Regions from separate parts of the Homo sapiens genome. Here all the other regions are linked to region 3. Evidence: promoter capture Hi-C in 16 types of primary human blood cells and fetal thymus (Javierre and others, 2016). All regions are on one chromosome and are shown on one strand. Each heading gives the region's core, a stretch centred on a gene start or on the middle of the fragment in contact. The rest is flanking DNA. Distances are from core to core; before and after follow the strand shown.

Region 1 (5,631 bases), core at 258-2,757, 480 kb before region 3:
GTATGATCTGAAATGCACAAATAGTTGTTTGTATCAGGATGGCCAAGCAGATAGACGTGTATGCACCCAGAGATGCCGGCAGCTGACTGTTCCTCCATGAGGGTGTTTAGATCCAAAGTGTTTTTACAGATAGCAGGGTAAAGGCCTCCTGGAAGGTGAACCTGGGCAGTAGTATCATAGCACCGCTCAACTTTTATGGTCAGGGTGCTCAGATTACGCAGAGCCACTATACATCCTTCGCTATTAACCATATGCAAGTAGAACCAGACACCAGTGACAAATGACTTTCTACTAATACTTAAAAGGAGCAATACACCACAATCACAGAAATGCTGTGCAAAGAAAAACAGCACCACAAAATGGGTAGGAGGTGATATCCTGGAGCATATTAAATTGAATCTCAGTCATAACGGGTCACAGAATTGTGAGCTGGAAGGGCTCTTAGGCAGTATCTGGTCCACAACCTTCAGTTGAGAGATGAAGAAACTGAGGCCTAGGAGAATTACTGTGGCCTAAGATCAGTCACTGAAAGAGCTACATTTTTGAGTAATTATTATTTTGAACCTTCCAGTTTTCATATAAAACCACCGGGTTATTAACAACTGTTACCTATGAAAATCTAATTTTTTTTCCCGTAAAGATTTAGATATTCTGATCTTCAGCTTGGAGTATTACAGGCTGTAAATTTAAAAGCTCGCCCAAGTTCTAAAGCCGACTCCAAAGGACCTAGTAGCTAAGCCCACTAAGGCCTCTCCCTCTCATACTCTACATTCTTAGATGTGATCTGTTTACCATTCTTAAGTTTCTAAAAACGTCAGCAATAACTAGAGGATATTAACTTGGACCCATCTCCTACTGGCGCTTCCTACGCACCCCTTCGCACCCAGACCCTGGCTCCTCAGAATCCTCAAGCCCCAACAGTCCCCACAAACCCATTTCCCAGGATCCTAGGAAGAGGGTAAAAGGAAGTGAGGACGGTGAGACTGTGATGCCAAGGGTGGGAGATGGCCGTCCGGGAGGCTGGGATTCTGCAGTTCATCTCTTGCCCTCAATTTCTTCACTGTGAAACGGGAAGGTTGGCGCCAACAACCTTTGAAGTCCCTTCCAGCTCTGGATGTGCAGGAGTTTTGTGACTCCAAGAGAAATGCACATAGAGGGGAACCCAGAGCCACCTTGGCTGGGACCTGACTCCAGACTGCCCGGAGAGGGTCGCCTTCGTTCTTCTCCACGCCCGTACCTGCCGCGTCCGATTCTGGGCGTCCCTCGTTGACCGTCCCCTCCGCCCGCTCCTCCAGCCCAGGCTCGCTGTGCAGGCCGCGGACAAAGTTTGGGGTCTGGCAAGCCCGGCAGAACGCTGCTCCTACGGGAAGCCGCTGCACGGCCAGCAGCCGAAGCCCGGGCTCGGCTCCAACCGCGGACCCCGCCACCGAGGAAACCGCCCTGCGCCACATTAGTGGGGCGAGCAGCCGCGCCACACGGCCGCCCGGCCCCATAGCAGCAGCCTTGCGTCGGCGTCGCGGGTGGGTGGTACTTCATGGAGCCCGGCCGGGAAATTCTACGTCGATGCGTGGGCGGAGTCAAGGCCTGAAGGACGGACCATGGGCGGAGTCTGGAGCCCGTGAAGACTGCAGTGACCCGGAAGAGCTACTTGGGGATTAGGGCGTGCGGGAATAAAGAACTAGTGTTGCTTGCCCACCTTGCTTTGCTTTGTGTCGCAGTAGCGCATTACGTTGTCACTTTTTTTTTGGACTCTGTCCACTAATGTGAGGCTCATGAAGGCAATAATTTTTGTTTCATTTTTAACTCTTCTCTCCACAGCACCTAAAACAGTTCCTGGTACTGAATGTCCAGAAGTTGCTGTTAATCTGATTAGGCTGGGATTAGGACATATAATCTACCCTCTCTCATTACCAGAAAATATTCAAGATTCCCTTGCAAATTTGAAATTGCGCGAGGAAAATCTGTTATCCTGGGCTAGAGTGGGGTGGGAGGCAGAGGTGTAAAGGACCATTTGGAAACCGTTCTTAGGTCAGCCCATCATCTACACTCCCTGTATGGAGGAGTTTACGCCCAGGGGCGGTACTGTGGGGACCAGCTCTGTAAGAATAAGGAATTCTGAGGTGCCAGCTGCGGTATTAAGTCACAGGACTTGAGAACTGCGATAGATTCCTGGCACGGGTGGGGGGGTGGGGGGTTTTGGGGGCGTGGGACGCCGCAGGGAAGCAACTTGCCCAGGTCATACACTTACTGACTGCGTCAGAATCAGAAGCCAGTTTCTGGCTTCTGAACTCCAGGCCTGCTAACTGCTGAAAGGAAGGCTTCATAGAGAGCAAATATTTCAAATGCCTGAAACAGTGCCAGACACATAGCAGGCACTCCAAAAATGTTTGCTACATTATTTTAAATAATTCCAAGCACTAATTTTGGGAAGTTTTTTAAAAATAGAGAAATTAAGCATTTGTGTATATCACACCAGATATGTACAACCACTTCAAGTTATTTTTGAAAAGAAGAAAAACATTACAGATTAAGTTTCCTCTGTCCAATTTTAGCCCCATCCTCAATTCCATTTTTCCACAGGCATGAACTTGGCTTTTCTCCCAGCTTCTGGCATCCATTCCGTGTTCCCACCCTTCTCTGAACATCCCAGACCTGCTTTACCACCTGTATTTGCCAGCTCATTTAATGGGTCATTATCCCTTCAAAACTCCCAAACCCTAGACTTCATTCAGTCCAGGATCTTCATACAACAAACGAATCTGTTGTCAAAATCCTGCTTATGTGACCTCCAAAATGTTTCTGTGAGTTCAGCTTCTTGTCTTCATTTCCACTGTTTCTTCCTTAGTCCACACCCTCATTAGTTCTTGCCTAATTACAGAGACTGCCTCCTACCTGGCTTTCCTGTCTCCAGTCTGTTTCTACTCTTTTCATCCTCCATGCTGCCCTTCTATCAACTACAATCATTTTCGCTTTATCTGCTTTTTGCTGTTTTTCAAACTCACCATACCCTTTTTTATTTTTATTTTTTAAAGAGATGGGGTCTTACTCTTGTCACCCAGACTGGAGTACAGTCACACAATCATAGCTAACTACATCCTCAAACTCCTGGGCTCAAGCGGTGCTCCTGCCTTAGCCTCCCAATTAGCTAGGACTACAGGCATGTGGAACCATGGCCAGCTAATTTTTGTTTTTAATTTTTTTAAAGACAGGATCTCACTATGTTGCCCAGGCTGGTTTCAAACTCCTGGCCTTAAGCAATCTACCCCACTGTAGCTGTGAGTATAGGCATAAGCCACCATGCCTGGCAACCTCACCATATCCTTTCAATGCCAAGCTTTGCATATACTTTTTTTTTGAGATGGAGTCTCGCTCTGTCACCCAGACTGGAGTGCAGTGGCACCATCTCGGTTCACCACAACCTTTGCCTCCAGGGTTCAAGCAATTCTCCTGCCTCGGCCTCCCAAATAGCTGGGATTACAGGCACGTGCCACCACCCCCAGCTAATTTTTGTATTTTTAGTAGAGACGGGGTTTCACCATGTTGGCCAGGCTGGTCTCAAACTCCTGACCTCAAGTGATCCACCCGCCTCAGCCTCCCAAAGTGTTGGGATTACGGGTGTGAGCCACCGTGCTTGGCCACTACTCTTTTTAGAGCACCCTTTTCCCATTTTTTCATATGACAAACTCAGACTCACTCTGTAAGACATACCTTAAGCATTAAGATATCTCCCCCTACTCTCTCAGATGGCCCCTCAGAAACCCCTCATCCCTTTGTTCATAAATGTCTTTAACATTTATGTTTGACTGCATGATACCCCACTAGAAAAGACTTAGATTTAATTCCACCTCTTCTGTTTATTAGCAGTGTACTATTGAAGTTCTTAATCTGAGCCTCAGTTTCCTCATCTGTAAAATGAGGGAATGATACCTTCTTCACAGAGTCTCGAAAAATTGGATAAAATATGCAGCACAAATTATATACCATAGTGCTTGGCATGTAGTAATCATATGGAAATTAGTATCTGTCTACAAATTGACCTCATGGAGAGGAAATGGCTTGAACCCAGTCATTATGATAAAGCCCATCAGAAAAAGACAACCAGGAACACGTGTGGTCAAAGTTTTTTTTTTTCCTGAGACGGAGTCTCGCTCTGTCACGCAGGCTGGAGTGCAGTGGTGCAATCTCAGCTCACTGCAACCTCCGCCTCCCGGGTTCAAGCAATTCTTCTGTCTCAGCCTCCTGAGTAGCTAAGATTATAGGCGTGCACCACCACGCCTGGCTAATTTTTTTGTATGTTTAATAGAGACGGGGTTTCGCCACGTTGGCCAGGCTAGGCTCGAACTCCTGACCTTGTGATCCTCCCATCTTGGCCTCCCAAAGTGCTGGGATTACAGGTGTGAGCCACCGCACCTGGCCCAAAGTTAGTTTTATTAACTCGCTGTAGCAAGGGAGACTGCATGCTATGGAGGACAGAGGAGCAGCTCAGGAAGAGGGACTAGAAGGGGCTTTGTTTAGGGCTCGTGCTTATGCTCAGTGAGTCTAAGGAGAGATCAGAGGAAGTGGTGTCAGCTGTGGACTGGGTGCTGTCCTGAAGCAAGGGAAGTTTAGGAATTTTTCTCAGTAATCTTTGTTCAGGAGACAGGAGAATGTTCACAGGGGCTGGAGATGTTATTGGTCAGTCACTCACAAGAGTCGTGTGGTCTGGGGAGAATCATGTCCTATTAAAAACATTATTTTAGGCTTCACTAGGAACATCACATTCTGATTAGCAGCAGGGCTGAGAAACAGACTCAGGGTCCTTGTTCCTTAGAACTATAAAAGTTAAGATAAATGTGGAGTGCTGGCCCTTGGGGAGGATTGATGCTGAAGCTGTGTCTTTGTGTGGAATGATGTGAAATGACCCCCATGCGGAGTCTTCAGGCAAGACCGGGATGTTCCATTCTCACTGAAATGATTCCAAACAACAGTTTCTCATCATCTGTGATTTCAGAGACAAGGTTTGCCAGCACTATGCATGTCCTTAATGTTAATTACCAAAATCCATTTTTACAGGTCATATTTCCTGAGGAAAATTAGAGAGGTTCTCAGAAATGCAAAATGCCCCTCTTTCCCCCAAAACTGCCATCTACTCATGGGCTTGGACATTGTTTTCAGACATTGGTTGCTTAGTAAAGGCAGAATCAGAAGTGGGGGTGGTTTGATAATCACTACCTTTGGGGTACTGAGCCAGAGGATTGAAGCCAAAAGCAACTTCCTGAGTCAGGAATTATAAATTAACTACAGTCCATTAGTACAAGGACTTCCCTATTACAGACCCTAATTACATCCCTGGTGTGGTAATTTGGGAGCCTCCTGTTTGCTGTGTTAGCAGCAGAGCCAAAAGGTTCCCAAATTTGTGTCCTGGGGCTTCATGGGAAGGTGAGAAGCTGCAGTCACAAACACTTTCTCTGCAGCTAGCCTCAGGGGCTGGGGAGAAGGTAGGGGCCTACTTTGGGAGATGACACCACACAGACCTCAGGATCTTGCTTCAGAGAAATACAGAGCAGGCTGGGCCAAAGGCCCAAGGGCTAAACTAGGGAGAGATTGCGCAAGCTTCCTGATGTGCCCATACTGGACCATAGGGACCTTAAC
Region 2 (5,139 bases), core at 2,130-4,629, 270 kb before region 3:
ATTATAAATGCAACTTTTTCTTCATTTTTGAGGGGAAATGCATGAAATAGAATTTATCAGAATTACTATGTTTTTATAACAGTACTACCAACAGTGAGTTTGTCTATGTTTGAAGTTTCATATTTTATACATCCTGGCATATTGGACCACATCTTGACAATATAATGCATCATGTCCTGATAAAGTCTTGCGATCCCAGAAGCACATGTGATTGAGAATGAATTAGTATCTAGGATATAAAAAAATGCTTACAAGTCCATAAGAAAAACATCTTTAAAAAAGGACAAAATAAATAATTAGAAAATGTACTCAAAAGGAAATTGGAATGACCAATAAACATATAAAAATGTGTTCAACATCACTAGTAACCTAAGAAGTGCATGTTAAATCCAAAATGAGATAGGCTGAGTTGGGCAGATCACTTGAGGTCTGGAGTTCGAGACCAGCCCGGTCAACATGGTAAAACTCTGTCTCTACGAGAAATACAAAAAAAATTTAGCTGAGTGTGGTGGTGGTTGACTGTAATTCCAGCTACTCGGGAGGCTGAGGCACAAGAATCACTTGAACCTGGGAGCAGAGGTTGCAGTGAGCCAAGATTGCACCACTGCACTCCAGCCTGGGCAACGGAGCGAGACCTCAACTCAAAATAAATATAAAAAAACAAAATGAGATAGGTTTTGGCATCCATCCATCCATCTGATTGACCAAAATTCTACAGGGATACAATACCAAATATTACTAAGGATATTTAGCATTTATCCATTGCTGGCAATATTATAATTTGGCACAGTCACTTTGGACAACAATTTGACGAAATCTAGTAAAGCTGACAATGCATACTCCCTAAGCAACTTCACACCTAGACTGGGCATATCTACAAGGAGAGATATATGGGAATAGCACATTCATGGCAGTATTTTTTGGTTGTAAACAATCTAAATGTCCACTTATAGGAAAATAATAAAGAAGGCACACTGTACCATAATTATATTGCAGTAAAAAATGAGTTAGAGCCATAGGAATAAACATAGATTCAGTAACATAATATAGAGGAAAGAAAGTAAGATGCATAAAGATGCACCATTATGAAGCCATTAAAATGGTGTTGAAGTGTAAGAAATAGTAAACCAATGTATTGTTTAGAAATTGACACATCGGTAGTAAAAGTATTATTTTTTAAAAAGTATGTGAATGATAAACACCAAATTAGTATAATGGTTAGCTACGTGAGGAAGGGAGATGGGTGAATTTTAGGTTGAGTTCACTTGAAGCTTCGACACTTTGGGTAATGTGTGTTTTATTTTTGTTTTGTTTTTCTTAAGCAAGATGCTAGGTACATGGTTATTATGCATTTTGCATATCTAATCATCTAATTATATAATATTAAGTTTATCTATATTAAATTTAATTTATATACAAAAACCAAAACAAATGAATGATTAGCAAAAAAAAAAGGGCAATAAACATGGAAACTAGGAATATTCAAAGTGTTACCACTCTAAAAACGAACATCACCATCCTTATGTCACTTTAAGCTTATGATTCTGACATTGTTTATAGTCCAGAATCTAAATTATTTCCCAGTTATTTCCTTTTTAAAAATTTGTACTTGGGAATATCCCAGTTTTATCAGTCTCAAACTGCATGGTCCAGTAGTTGCTTATTTCTTGTCTCTTCTTTTTTCTCAGATCAGAAATTAACATTTTCTCCTACGTATTATATATCTGCTCCATCAGAAACAATCTTCCTTATATTTTATATTATTTTATTTTTCATAGGATATTTGCATATTTATTATTTCTTATGATATTTTACATGTGTTTCTCTTTTAAGGATGGGAATATAATCATAGAAAGGCTAAGCCATTTTTCCAAAGTCACTTTGCATGTGGTTGAAGCATGATTAAATTTCAGGTTCTAATTTTTAGTCCACTGGGACACTAACTACTCTTTTCTCCACCAAGTGTCACAGCTTCAATATTTCTGCTCATGTCAAAAGGTGCTCCTTATGGGGGAGGGGATGGGGAACGTGGATGGGGGGAAAGAGGAGCATGTCTGCCTACTCTCACTTAACCAGCCAAAACATTTTGCTTCTTTCCCAGACATCCACTCCTTTTACCTCTCGAAATAGCTCTGCCCCAAGGAAGGAGTAGCTGCTAATCTAATTGGTCAGAGCCTAATAGTCATTGGGTACCATTTTACTAGTGGGTAGAGTCACTATGCATTTAAAGAACGGCACCCACACTCATCACTCATTATCTAATTCTATGAAGTTGAAAAATGCCCAGGCAGGGCTTGTATCTGTTGGGCAGGTCTATTTATTTGAGCTTCTTCCAGCCTGCAATTTGATGTGTAAGTCAGGCTGAGCTCTGCCCCTCTGACACGGCCATTTCTGATTTAGGGGGTGCTGGCCAGGGTGGGAGGCTGTCTGCCGAGTTGCATTCTCCACTCTGGCTCTGCCAGAGTTCTGCCTTGAGGGGCTGTGAGTGCTTCTCTAGCTGTTCATAAAATGGTATTTTCTCCCTTCTGACTCTTGCTTCTCACGTCTACGGGTGGCTTTTATACTTGGGTACCCTGCCTGGTAGGGCAGTGGGTTAGTAGTAGGATTCTCAAAACTCAACTCTAAACTATTAATACCGTTTAGCACCCAAATTGGCACATATTGTTCAGCAATGCCTCCCTTCTCAGTGAAAACAAATTGTCATTACTCTTTTTTGCCCTGGCATGACTGGGGAATAAACATTCTCTTTATTCTTCAGGACTCAAGGGTAATATATAATGCTTCCTACTCTGTCCATTTTACTATTTTTTTTTTTTTTTTTTTTTTGAGACGGAGTCTTGCTCTGTCGCCCAGGCTGGAGTGCAGTGGCATGATCTCGACTCACTGCAAGCTCCGCCTCCCGGGTTCATGCCATTCTCCTGCCTCAGCCTCCCGAGTAGCTGAGACTATAGGCGCCCGCCACCACACCCAGCTAATTCTTTTGTATTTTTAGTAGAGATGGGGTTTCACCGTGTTAGCCAGGATGGTCTCGATCTCCTGACCTCGTGATCCGCCCACCTCAGCCTCCCAAAGTGCTGGGATTACAGGCGTGAGCCACCATGCCCGGCCCATTTTACTACCTTTTTGTTTTGTTTTATCTATTTCACCAGCTACCATAGCTTTATCACATATAACTGTCAGAAAATGACTGTGATAAAAGATAATAGGAGTTTGATGTGACATAAAAGAATAACTTGAATAGGAGTGAATGTTTCTTGATAAATACAATTGACACTGAGTGATTTCCCTCCTAGAAATAATTCATTTACATTCATCATAACAACCAATAACGGAAAACACAAGTTTGGTCTGCTTTTTTATTTCAATTTTATTTAGATTAATGTTAAATGGTTGTCACTATTTCTGTTAGATTATATCTCTTAAAATAAAATGCTTTGAAATTATTTAGTATATGCTTTTGTCTAGCAAATAGAATTTTATCATTGCCAACAAAAGAGAATTACCCATGGCTGTGAATGTTCACATATGGAAAGAGCCCCAGAAAATTGCCTTGATCCCCAATTCCTGCCCGCAAGGCTCACAATCATATAAAGTAAGAAAATGAGGGATTTAAGCTGATAATTAGTTTTAAGTATTTAAGCCATGTTTTCCTTCAGTAAAATAGACAAAAACTACCATTTAGTGAGCACTTACTGTGCGCCAATCACTGTGTTACGTATTTTCTCTATATAGTCTCCCTTTACCTTCACATGCCCCTCTGAGCTTGGTGCTGATAATTTGGGATTTGTGAAAATTAAGAACATCTGCTCTTCAAAAGGCACTGTTAAGAGGACGAAAGGACGAACTACAGTGTGGGAGAAAATATTTCCAAATCACATACTGATAAAAGTCTTGTATCCAGAACATATAATGAACTCTCAACTCAGTAAGAAAAAAAAAACCATTTGGGGAAAATATGGGCCAAAGATTTGAGGAGATAATTCTCCAAAGAATATACATAGGTAGGAAAAAATCACATGAAAAGATGCTCAACATTTTTATTTATCAGGGGAATACAAATTAAAACCACAGTAAGATGCCACTTTACACCTGAAAGAATATCTAAACTTAAAACAGTTGACCATATCAAGTGGTGGTGAAAATATGGAAGCACTGGAGCTCTCATACACTGCCAAGTGGGAATGCAAAATGTACAACTACTTTGGAAAGCAGTTTGGCAGTTTCCTAACAATATGCCTCCGATATGAATTAGCTACTCCACTCCTAGGTATTGACCCAAAAGAAATGAAAGCATACGTCTTTACAAAGACCTGTATGTAAATGTTCAAACAGATTTATTTATAATACCCAAAAACTGAAAACAACCCACTATCCATTAGTAGGCAAAGGGATTTAAAAAAGGACTGTATCCATATAATGGAATATTCTGCAGCAATAAGAAGGAATGAACATACAACAAATGCATAAATATCAAGATAATTATGCTGAGTAGAATAATATAGACAAAAAGTACACATTGTATCATTCTATAAATGTACACATTTATAGAAAGTTCTAGAAGATGCAAACTAATATTTAGTGACAGAAAGCAATCAGTGGTTGCCTGGGACATGGGTTTAAGAAAAGGAGGAATAAGAAGATAGGATTAAAAAGATGTATGAAGCCAGGTGCAGTGGCTCACACCTGTAATCCCAGCACTTTAGGAGGCCGAGGCAGGTGGATCACTTGAGGCCAGGAGTTAGAGACCAGCCTAGCCAACATGGTGAAAACCCATTTCTACTAAATGTACAAAAATTAGCCAGGCGTGGTGGTGCTTGCCTGTAATCCTAGCTACTTGGGAGTCTGAAGCATGAGAATTACCTGGACTCGGGAGGCAGAGGTTGCAGTGAGCCGAGATTGTGCCACTGCACTTCAGCCTAGGCAATAGAGTGAGACTTTCTCTCTCAAAAACAAAAAAGGATAGAGAAAGCATTTTGGGATACGGATATGTTCATGATCTTGATTGTGGTGATGATTTAACGGGCGCAAAAATTATCTAATTGTACATTTTAAATATATGCAGTTTATTTTATGTCCATTATACCTCAATAAAATTGTTTTTTAAAAAACAACTATGAGGCCATGGAGGCTTTTGTACAT
Region 3 (5,771 bases), core at 3,043-5,542:
ATAGCTTCCAGCTATTATAGTTTAGGCTATAAGGAGCTGAACTAGGAGGGCACATCAAGAATAGAAGAGAGGTTCTCAACCTTTTTTCCTTCAACAACAAATGTATCCAAGGAATATAACATACTTTTGGCCATTATAATGTTGTCTCCATTTCCAACTGTATATGTGGGAATTACTGTAGAGGTGAATCTCTACTGTGAGGTAGGAGGCAAGACTGAGCTCCAGAGGCAGGGCTTGGACACTGGACAAAATTGAGGACCAGCTAAAACAGGGACAGGGTGGAAGCAGTTTTCCATAAGTCACACCTCCCATGTGCCATGTGCCATGTGTGCTATGTGCCATGTCAGTTTACTGTTGCCATGGTAACACCGGGGAGCTACCACCCCTTTCCATGGCAGTGACATGACAACCCAAAAGTTACTACCCCTTCCCTAGAAATTACTGCATAAACTCTGCCTTAATCTACATGTAATTAAAAGTAGGTATAAATACGACTGAAAAACTGCCCTGAGTTGTTATATCTGCAGGAGCAGTCATGGAGCTGTAACACCTCTTTAATAAAGCTGTTTTCTTTTACCACCAGCTTGGCCTTGAATTCTTCCCTGGGTAAAGCCAAGAACCCACAGGCTAAGACCCACTTTAGGGCTCACCTGTCCTGGATCAAATCTACATAATTTAGACTTTGTGGAGGTCAAGGAGTAAGATTAACCCAGTATGTTACACAAGCTCAAAACTTGACAGTCATCCTTGACTACTTCTTTCAATGTTGCCCTACATATTCATTTGGCCGACAAGTCCTGCTGATTTCACCTTCTTAATGGTTTTCAAATTTACTCCTCTCTCTAGTTTAACTGCATGGGGTTCTTCAAAAGTTCCCTGACTCCTCTAGGCAGTGTTAGTTGTCTTTCTTCTGCCTTTCTGTCAAATTTTGAGCATAACTTTATTGTGGGACTTAGTATATATATTCACATTACATTGGAATCATCTGTTTACTCATGTTTCTCCATTCAACCATGATATTCTTAAGGGCAGTTTAAAAAAAAATCTTATATCTCTAGTGCCTAGCATATAATAAGGCTCAATGAATGTTTGAGGAAGGCAAATGACTTTGGTATTTTTAGCCCATCTGGCAGGATAAGTGCCACATTCACTGCATTCTTACTATGTATGAGGTATTTGAATAAAAAGATGAGAAACAGTTTCTGCATTGAATACATGGACACTAAGAAGGGAGCAATATACATGGGGACCTACTTGAGGGTGGGAAGAGGGTGAGGATCCAAAAACTACCTATCAGGTACTATGCTTATTGCCTGGGTGAGAAAATAATCTATGCACCAAACCCCCACAACATGCAATTTACCCATATACCAAACCTGCACATGCACTCCCTGAAACTACAGTAAAAGTTTGAAAGAAAAAAAAAAAAAAGAAATAGCTTCTGTTTTGGAGGAGCTCAGATAACAGCAAGGGACAATATAATGACTAAGAGCAACCAACTGTGTGATCTTTTATCAATTATTTAATATCTCTGAATCTCAGTTTCCTTATCTGTGAAATGAAACCATATATATCCTTACAAGAATTAGTAAAATAAGCTATAATGCAGTGCAATCTTACAAATTCCTGTAAGGATTAAAAGAACAATTATTCAGCCGGGTGCGGTGGCTAACGCCTGTAATCCCAGCACTTTGAGAGGCCGAGGCGGGCAGATCACGAGGTCAGGAGATCAAGACCATCCTGGCTAACACGGTGAAACCCTCATCTCTACTTAAAAAAAAAAAAAAAGTACAAAAAATTAGCTGGGCATGGTGGCAGGCGCCTGTAGTCCCAGCTACTTGGGAAGCTGAGGCAGGAGAATAGCGTGAACCTGGGAGGCGGAGCTTGCAGTGAACCGAGATCGTGCCACTGCACTCCAGCCTGGGTGACATTCCAAGACTCCATCTCAAAAAAAAAAAAAAAAAAAAGAACTATTTTTCAGCACTTAACACAGTGACAGGCATAGTAGACACAGGTTGTTATTATTCATGATGATGAGCCTAGCAGAAGAACACTATAATATGAGGTGAATTTTTTTTTCTTGTTTTTAAAGATGTGGTCTCACTCTGTTGCCCAGGCTGGATTGTAGTGATGAAACTGCCACTGTAAAATTATAACTGAGACGGCGAAAGACATCTGACATCACCAACTCCATCTTGCTTCTAACCTCCAAGCTGTCCTTGTTCACTCCTGGGCATAGGCTGAACTAACTTTGGAAAGAACTTTTAGTTTATAGCTTAAAACAAAGATGATAACAGCCCTTTCCCTAAACAAATCCCCTTCTTGCCTAAAAAAATTCTTTTAATCCTTACAGGAATTTGTAAGATTGCAGTGCATTATAGCTTATTTTACTAATTTTGTAAGGATTTAAATATATATAGTTGGCTTCATTTTACAGGTAAGGAAACTGAGATTCAGAGATATTAAATAATTGATCAAAGATCACACAGTTGGTTTGTGCTTTTAGTCATTATATTGTCCCTTGCTGTTGTTATCTGAGCTCCACCAAAACATAAACTATTTCTTTTTTTTTTTTTGCTCTTTCCAACTTTTACTTTAGTTTCAGGGAGTGCATGTGCAGGTTTGGTATACAGGCTAACAGATTAGCGAAAAGATTAGACATTATGGTTTAGGAGTCATGCAGCTGGAGGCTACAAGATTCTGACCCTCCCCAAATTGCTCCTGGGGATAACAACTCTATTGTAAAGCCTAACATCAGTGTTTGAGATATTTTGCAGACCCTGCAAAATGGATCAGCTGGAACCACCCAGATAGGTAAACTGGCTCATCTGATCTTGTGGTCCCAACCCAGGAACTAAGATTCTGACCCTTCCCAAATTGCTCCTGGGAATAACACTATTGTAAAGCCTAACATCAGTGCTTGAGATACTTTGCAGAGCCTGCAAAATGGATCAGCTGGCACCACCCAGATCGGCAAACTGGCTCATCTGATCTTGTGGCCCCGACCCAGGAACTGAGGCAGTACAAGACAGCTTCCACTCCCTGTGATTTCATCTCTGACCCAACCAATCAGCACTTCCGACTTACTGGCTGTCTCCCCACGCACCAAATTGTCCTTAAAAACTCTGATCCCCGAATGCTATGGGATACTGATTTGAGTAATAATAAAACTCTGGTCTCCTGCACAGCCAGCTCTGCGTGAATTACTCTTTATTGTAATTCCCCAGTGTTGATCAATCGGCTCTGTCCAGGCAGCGGGCAAAGTGAACCCTTTGGGAGCTTACAGCAAGTGACCCAATCACAGCTCACTGCAGCATCAAACTCAAGTGGTCCTCCCGCCTCAGCCTCCCAAATAGCCAGAATTACAGGCGCAAGCCACAGAGGTCAGCAAGGGGAAATTTTTAGGAGCACAGACATTGGGCACAGAAAACGACTACGTACCTTCAGAATGAGGCAGGAAAGTCTTAAAAGTCAAAGTCTTAGAAATGTCTTACAGCCTTAAAAATCAATTAAGTCTTAGACCTGGGGGGGTCAAATCTCAAATACGACAGCAGCCAGAAATTTATTACATCAGAGGTTGGGAATCACTTGGGAAACTTCAAAGGCAGATCAATGGCCAGTTCCCAGCCCCAAACTCTTTAGAATTTCTAGGAGTAGGTCTCCAGCGTGAGTATGGTTTTACCTCTCCTAAAGTGATTCTAATGTGCAGCCAGGGTTGAGAACCACTGCCATTCTAAACCAATGAGGGCAAGATGGCCAAACAGAAGTGTCATTTCCTATTTAGTCTCCTTGATTGTTGCAATGGAATTCCTCAGCTTCAAAAGTCCAGAATTTCATGTGAGATTTCCAAATTCTAAAATGTTGGCAAGTAATTAAAAGAAATTTTTTTAAAAAAGATTGGGATCAAAGAAAACATGGATTCGGGCCCTACTGAGTGTCACTTCGTAACCTTTTTGCAGTTCAACCTCAGGTTTGAACAACCTGATTCTGAGAAGTTAAATAATTTGTCCACGGTTACACAGCCAGTAGGAATAAGAGTTAGGACTAAAACCCAGTCCCTCTGAATTTAATTAATGTTCCTTCCATGAGAAGGAAGGAACACCTGAAGATGCGTTTTAAAAATGGGTAACAGAAACGCGAAGTTACCGCCAGCCATGATCGCAACCACGCATGCGCCTACTACTGCCGGCGAGGCGGAAGAGCAGGGAAGGTTAAAGGCGATGAATTACGACCTCTGCTGGCGACGCTCACGACTCCTGCCGTAAAGGCCGTGTGTGGCGCCTGCGCACCTCCTTTCCCTTTCGGATTCCCGACGCTGTGGTTGCTGTAAGGGGTCCTCCCTGCGCCACACGGCCGTCGCCATGGTGAAGCTGAGCAAAGAGGCCAAGCAGAGACTACAGCAGCTCTTCAAGGGGAGCCAGTTTGCCATTCGCTGGGGCTTTATCCCTCTTGTGATTTACCTGGGTCAGTGGGAGAAGAACCGGGAAAGTGACTGGAGGGAAGAGGGTGGCGGAGACAGCAGCCCCATTTTTGGCCGTCGGGGGAGGGAGAGAAAAATAGGGGACACTGCCGTGCACGGCCCCTGAGGCTGTCTGGTCAAGTGGGGCCGATCTAACCTGAGTTCGAGTTCCCGTTCTATCGCTTTATAGTTGCATGGTCTTTAAGCAGTCTTGCAATCCCTCCTTTTCTATTTTTGCATCCTTAAAGTGGAGGTCATATTTCTCGGGATTGTAGGGAGGGTTGGATGACCCCAGTGGATGTGAAAGTCACTAATTCACTCTCTAGCACTAGGTGGTTCTCGGGGTGTTTTTCCTCACCGCTCCATGTGGTCCTAAGTGGAAAGAGTCCTGTTCAGGGAATCGAGACACCTCGTGAAAGTACCACTGCCATGAAAGCATGATTATAATAATAGTCGTTGGATGCCTCTGCTTTCTTACCTGTACGATGAAGGGTTTGGATGATTTCTATTACTGCCCCCATTTTACAGGTGAGGAAACAGCCGTAGAGAAACTTTTTTGCCAAGGTCGCACAGCTATGCTGACTGAGGGAGTTAGGGGCTCAGGCAGTGGGGCATCAGAGCCCATAGTCTTAACCATTATAGCGCACTTAAAGGATTTGGGGTTTTTTTGGTTTTTGTTTTTAAGACAGAGTCTCGCTCTGTCACCCAGACTGGAGTGCAGTGGCGCTATCCCGGCTCATTGCAACCTTCCCCTCCTGTGCTCTAGCGATCCTTCCACCTCAGTCTCCCAAGTAGCTGGGACTACAGGCTGGTGCCAACAGGCTCGGTCACTTACTGCAAGGATTTGTTAATATTTTTCAGTTAGGGTTGCAGACTGGGACCTATTCTGTAGTTTTTTCTTTTCTTTTCTGTCTTTTTTTTTCCTTTTTTCCTTTTTGAGACAGTCGCTGTGTGCCCAGGCTGGAGTGTAGTGGCGCGATCTCTGCCCACCGCAATCTCTGCCTCTCGGGATCAAGCGATCCTTCCCCCTTAGCCTCCCGAGTAGCTGTGATTACAGACTTGCAGCCACCGCTCGCGGCTAATGTTTATATTTTTAGTAGAGACGGGGTTTTGCTTATGTGGGCCAGGCTGGCCTCAAACTCCTGGCCTCAAGTTAGCTACCTCCCCTCCAGCCGGCCTCCGCCCCGCGCGCGGCCTCCCAAAGTGCTGGGATTACAAGTGTGAATCACCGCGGCCAGGCTGTAGTTTTTTCTTTTTCTTTTTTTTTTTTTTTTTTGAGACGGGGTCTGCCTCGCCCAGGCTGGAGTGCAGT
Region 4 (5,469 bases), core at 2,203-4,702, 270 kb after region 3:
GTAATCCCGATGTGTCAGGGAGGGACCTGGTGGGAGGTGATTGGATCATGGGAGCAGTTTCCCCCATGCTGTTCTCATGATAGTGAAGGGAGTTCTCATGAGATCTGATGGTTTATAAGTGGCAGTTTCCCCTGTGCCCGCTCCTCTCTCCTGCCACCTAGTAAAGAAGGTACTTGCTTCTCCTTCTCCTTCTCCTTTTGCCATGATTATAGATTTCCTAGGCTTCTCCTGCCATGTGAACTGTGCGTCAGTTAAACCTCCTTTCTTTATATATTACCCAGTCTCCAATATGTCTTTATAGCAGCATGAAAACAGACTAATACACCCACCTTGTAAACCGATTGTCAATCCACCTCATCTGCCTATGGCTTGGGAACCTTATCTCCCTTAGAACCCGGAGCTCAGGGGCAGGGGGCCCATCAGCTGGGAGCTTAGCCATGTGGGTTGAGGTCATCTTAACCCATCCTGAATCTAAGGAAATCTAAGACCTGGGACTGGTAGTGAAGATCAGATGCTCTCAGGAGGTCATCCTGCCTGGTTCGTTTTCCCCCTTCTCTGTGCTTTTCAGAGACATGGGGCTGAGGCTGGGTAGCTCCATCACCCCTCGGACTCAAACTTTTGTTCTCAAATTTTGGTGAACCCAAGAAACACAGTGGGGGCTTTGCAGCAATGCAGATTACTGCACTTTTGGTGCTGCAATTTCCATGCCACACATCTGGGATGCGGCCCGGGAATGTGTCTATTTCAAAACTTATTTGTCCAACAAACATAAACTGAATATGTACTCTATGCCAAGCAATGGTCTAGCCCTAAGCATATATCCAAGAACAAAACAAAAATTCTTCACCCTCATGAAGCTTCCATTCTAGTGTCAGGGAAGGACGGAATAAGGATATCAGGTTAAAAGGTGAAAAATGTTATGGGAAAAACTGAGCACAGTGATGGGGATTGGGAGCAGGTGCAATTTTCAATGAGGCCGTGAGAGTAGGCCTGACTGAGAAGGTGATCTTGAAACAAGGTCTCAAAGGAGCGGGGAGCAAGCCTCACAGATACCTGGGTAGAGGCTCTGCGGTAGGGAGGGGGATAGCTCATTCTAGGAGCAGTGAGGACACCAGAGTGACTGATTAGAGTGACCCAGGGAAAAGCTGTAGGAGATGTGGCCAGAGAGGAAACACTGGGCCATTTCCAAGTCTGGTGGCCTTGTTGGCACTCCGGCATGAACTCTGAATGATTCAGAGCAGCTTTACCTGAGTTTGCCACCCTGAATCCAGTGCATCAGAGTCCTAGGGAGGGATATGTGTGAACCACATGTTTTAGCCTTCCCATGAGTAGCTTAACCCGGTCCCCATCCTGACACAATTTCTATTATGTTCAAGAGAATCACCAAGGCTACTGTGTTGAGGATAAACTATAATGGATCAAGGATGGCAATGAGGGGAACTTTAGGGGGCCATGGCAGTCACTCAGGGAGACAAATGGGAAGTCTGGAGTGGTGGTGAAAGGAGATGAGGAAGACTAAGAATCTGCAGGTGGTTCTCCAGGGGATTCCAAGTTGCTGCACCTGTACACTGGCTTAGAGCTCGTGGAAGCAAAATTTAGGGGTGGGTGCTGCTGCCAGCCTTGCCTAAGTTTCCCCTGCTGCATCCAGGGTGTCCTGGGGCAGAGTGAAGAGTGTGGGGATGAAGCAGCATGTTTAGCCCTAGCAGAACCCAGGAGCTTACCCCATGCCCAGGCCACCCACATGCTTACAGCAGAGTATTGCTGGCAATTCCTGGTCATGCTGGTGCATTTCCTCTTGGAGTCAGACATGTGGGTTCTGTGATGATTCTCTGAGTCCAGGATTTATCCAGCCCAATGGGTACCTCATTAGCACCCATGTTATTTTTGGGAAGAGGTAAAGTCAGGAACTGATTTAAAGATATCCAGACCCTCTGTTGCAGGTTGAATTGGGTCTCCCCCAAATTCCCAATACCTCAGAATGTGACCTTATTTGGAATAGTCTTTGCAGATTTAATTAGTTAAGATGAGGTCACACTGGAGTAGGGAGGGTCCCTACTCTGATATGACTGGTGTCTTCATATAAAGGGGAAATTTGGAGACAGCCATGCACACAGGGAGAACGCCATGCAAAACAGATAGGGCTGATGCATCTACACCAAGGAACACCAAAGATTGCTAGCAAACCGTGAGAAGCCAAGACAGAGGCTTGGAACAGATTCTCCCTCACAGCCCTCAAGGAAACAAACCTGCAGAGACTTTGATCTGAAACCCCTAACCTCTAGAACTGTGGGACCATAAATTTCTATTGGTTAAACCACCTGGTCTGTGGTACTTTGTTGCTAGGCAGTCCTAGCAAACTAATACGCTCTCATTATCTGAGACCAGAAACTCCCCGCATCCCCCACCATCTCCCTGCACTGGTTCCAGATCTGCTGGCTCTTGCAGATGGCAGCCTACCCATCTGAATGAGAGCAGGATGTGGTAGAAGGCTCCAGACTCCGCATCGCTGCTTCAGTGAGAAGGCTGTTCTGTGTTACTTAGAATAGGACTGCTGTGCTCTGGTATTTTGTCAACAGCATCTTTCAGGACCCTCTGGAGAACTCGGTGCTTACGCCCCCACTATGATGTTTTTAGAGATGTGTTTAGCCTATCATTCATGCTTGGCTTTCTTCTTTCACTATGTACATATGATGAGCTATAGAAGTATGCATTTGGCATGATGAAAGTAATTTGAGGTTTATCCATTTAAAGATATTTCCAGATGGGTCTCTGCAAGGCTGAGGCCACAATTAACTGACAACTGTCCGCTGGCTATAAAAATATCCAATGCATTCAGAAGTTTTTGAGGGTATTGCTGGTATTCATTCTCACTTCTCTCTCAATAAGAACACTCCCTCTCATCTGTGTATTAGAACTTTGTTCTACAGTAGCAGCTGCTCAGCATCCTTGGGAGGCCTGAAAGGAAGGTTGCAGCCACAGAGCCTTCTGACACTCGCCGACTACTCAGCACCCTTCGTGCTTTTGAAGCAGTGTGGCGGGAGCATTCTGCAAGGGGGTTTCTCTAGACCCTGGACCTGATGGGGTAAAATCAAAAGTGATGGTCAGACATGTCCACTAGAGCAGCTAGGGTTAAAGAGACTGGAGATAGCAAGTGATGCAGAGAAACTGGAACTCTTCTACATTACTGGTGGGAATGTAAAAGGGTTAGCCCTTTTGGAAAACAGTCTGGCAGTACCTCATGAAGTTAACCAGACATTTACCACATGCCCCAGCATTCCCACTCCTTAGGTGTTTACCAAAGACAAATAAAAACCTGTGTGTACAAAAATGTATAAAATTGTTCATAGCAACTTTATACGTAAAATTCAAAAACTGGAAACAACGCAAATGTCCACCAATTTGTGAATGGATAAACAACTTGTGGTATCTCCATACCCTGGAACAAGACAGAAGACACACAACAACGTGGCTGAATATCAAAACATTATACTAAGTGAATGATGCCAGATTTAAAAAGACTGATTCCATTTGGAAAACTTTCTGGAAAAGGGAAACCTAGTAACAGAAAGCAGCCGAGGAGTTGCCTGGGGCTGTGTGGTCACAGCAGATGTGAAGAACAGTGAGGTAGGAGGGAACTTTTAGGATGATAGAACTGTTCCATGTTGTTTATGATGGCAGTTAAATGATTCGATACAATTACCAAAATTTCTCAAACTGTACACTTAACCTTGGAAAATTTTATTCTATGTCAATAATCCCATCAACAAAAAAAGAGGGGTGGAGGATAAAGTGTCAGCCGGCAAAAATAGCGACCAAAATCAGGCTATCAAACCAAGACCCCACCACAGTCCAGGGCTTGAATTCCAAGTGGCAGGAACCCAGTCTCTTCCAGCCTCTCCCGCTGCTGAAAGTGGGAATTCAGCCCACACGCCCCGCTTTTGCGAACCCGGCAGTGCAGATGCGCCTTCCTGTGGCCAAAGCTGCTACCTGCAGATGTGCTGGCGGGGGCCTGGCGCTCTGAAGGTGGCTGCCACCTGTGTCACTGCCATTTCCCTGGGGCTGCGGCACTGGGCCTCACCGCCCACTTCTGGGCGGTGTTTTGGGGGGTTGGGGTGGAGATTTCCTTCTCCTATGTCCCACCCAGGTGCCTTGCTGAGTATCGTACCTACGCTCAGGTGCCAAGCACCGCTGCCCATCGCACAGGTACCTCTCCGATGCGCTCCCTCCTCGCCCCGCTGGAGGGTTAGGGACTAAAGTAGGCTGGGGGGCAACCAGAACCTTCTCAGGCTTTCGCTCGGGCTCTGTTTGCCACACACCCCCGCCATCACCACCACTACCTTCCTGCCGACACTAGTCTTGCCCGCTCCTAGCCCTTGCAACGTCCTGCAGATGCAGCGCCATCGCCCCTCTCCATCCCCCACTCCGAGGCCAGCACAGTTTATTTTCCTTCCCTAGCCCAGGGAAGGATCAGCCGCTGTTCTGTCCCTTCTCCCAGGCTGGCTTGCGGATTCCCGCCCCCGCGGCAGCAGGCGAGTCCGCTCCTTCGCCCCCGCCCCTTTTGCTCGCTTTCTCCCACTTCCCACCGCTGACGCCTCCTCCGGAAACCCCTCGCTATCCCAGGATGAGAAATGGACGGGCTACAGCCGTACATATTTTCCTCACCCCACGGCCACCACGGCACCACCTGGGAAAGGGGCCTGACCGTCGAGATAGTTTGAGGCTGTGCTTGGTACCAGGCTCCACAAGGAGGAGGTATTCGATAGACATATTTGGGCAGTGCCAGATTCAACCATCTCTTTTACGAATTTTGAATTTGAGACATCATTATTTTATTCTTTTAAGGCAAACATAGGCAGGTGGTACACTGAAGCAGTTTAAACGGGTATTCAACATAGGCCAGTCTCACTCCTTGCCCACTGCCCAGGAAAATCATTTTCAACCTCGCATTTCCTTCCAGCCATTTCCCAAGCATGAATAAGTTTGTCTACATAAGCAAATGAGACCAACCTATCAGTCTTCCCTTTGTTCCTTTAAGGTACTGTGTCTTGGGAAATCTTTCTACATCAATACAGAGAGGGTTACCGCATGCCTTTAGAGCAAAGGCTCTTTAAGTGTGGTGGCCAGGCCAACTACACCAGCATCTCCAGGGAACTCGTTGGACATGCGCATTCTTAAGCGCCATTCCAGACCAGTTGAATCAGAAACTGGTGTGAGGCTTGTTGGTTCGTGTTTTAACAAGCACCCCATGCTCAGATTTGGGGTGGGGTGAGGAAAAGATTTGCTCCATTTCTTATTTCATTGTTTTGATGTGCCATAATTTATTTAGCTCCTTTTTCTTTCTTTCTTTCTTTTTTTTTTTTTTTTTTTTTTGAGACAGAGTCTTGCTCTGTCGCCCAGGCTGGAGTGCAGTGGTGCGATCTCGGCTCACTGCAAGCTCCGCCTCCCGGGTTCTCACGCCATTCTCCTGCC

Evidence for each region. Contacts are between HindIII fragments. The CHiCAGO score rates a contact against its expected background, and 5 or more counts as called.
Region 1: a contact is called between the fragment with the promoter of MALSU1 here and the fragment with the promoter of TOMM7 in region 3, in 7 of 17 cell types (total CD4 T cells, neutrophils, total CD8 T cells and 4 more). The highest score is 9.5, in total CD4 T cells.
Region 2: a fragment that was not itself captured here is called in contact with the fragment with the promoter of TOMM7 in region 3 in 3 of 17 cell types (neutrophils, naive CD8 T cells and monocytes); the score reaches 6.4 in neutrophils.
Region 4: a fragment that was not itself captured here is called in contact with the fragment with the promoter of TOMM7 in region 3 in 8 of 17 cell types (endothelial precursors, total B cells, naive B cells and 5 more); the score reaches 7.8 in endothelial precursors.

What each region holds. Positions count from the first base shown.
Region 1 is chr7:23,295,215-23,300,845 of GRCh38, reverse strand. MALSU1 (mitochondrial assembly of ribosomal large subunit 1) reads right to left here and starts at 1,507. Exons shown (of 4, transcript NM_138446.2): 1 at 1,238-1,507; 2 at 1-7. The coding sequence starts at 1,493. RefSeq lists an enhancer at 1,201-1,690. The HindIII fragment of the contact is 9,022 bases long and covers 1-3,336 here.
Region 2 is chr7:23,087,554-23,092,692 of GRCh38, reverse strand. All of the region lies in intron 1 of LOC105375186 (a long non-coding RNA gene), which reads left to right. Among named protein-coding and RNA genes, the nearest start is that of KLHL7-DT, 16 kb to the left of the region's middle. The HindIII fragment of the contact is 3,684 bases long and covers 1,538-5,139 here.
Region 3 is chr7:22,821,370-22,827,140 of GRCh38, reverse strand. TOMM7 (translocase of outer mitochondrial membrane 7) reads left to right here and starts at 4,292. Exons shown (of 3, transcript NM_019059.5): 1 at 4,292-4,464. The coding sequence starts at 4,362. LOC112267993 (a long non-coding RNA gene) reads right to left here and starts at 4,184. Exons shown (of 3, transcript XR_002956543.2): 1 at 3,442-4,184. RefSeq lists enhancers at 4,062-4,271, 4,302-4,381, 4,051-4,811. The HindIII fragment of the contact is 22,456 bases long and covers 1-5,771 here.
Region 4 is chr7:22,548,930-22,554,398 of GRCh38, reverse strand. No RefSeq gene overlaps it. Among named protein-coding and RNA genes, the nearest start is that of STEAP1B-AS1, 12 kb to the left of the region's middle. The HindIII fragment of the contact is 5,185 bases long and covers 860-5,469 here.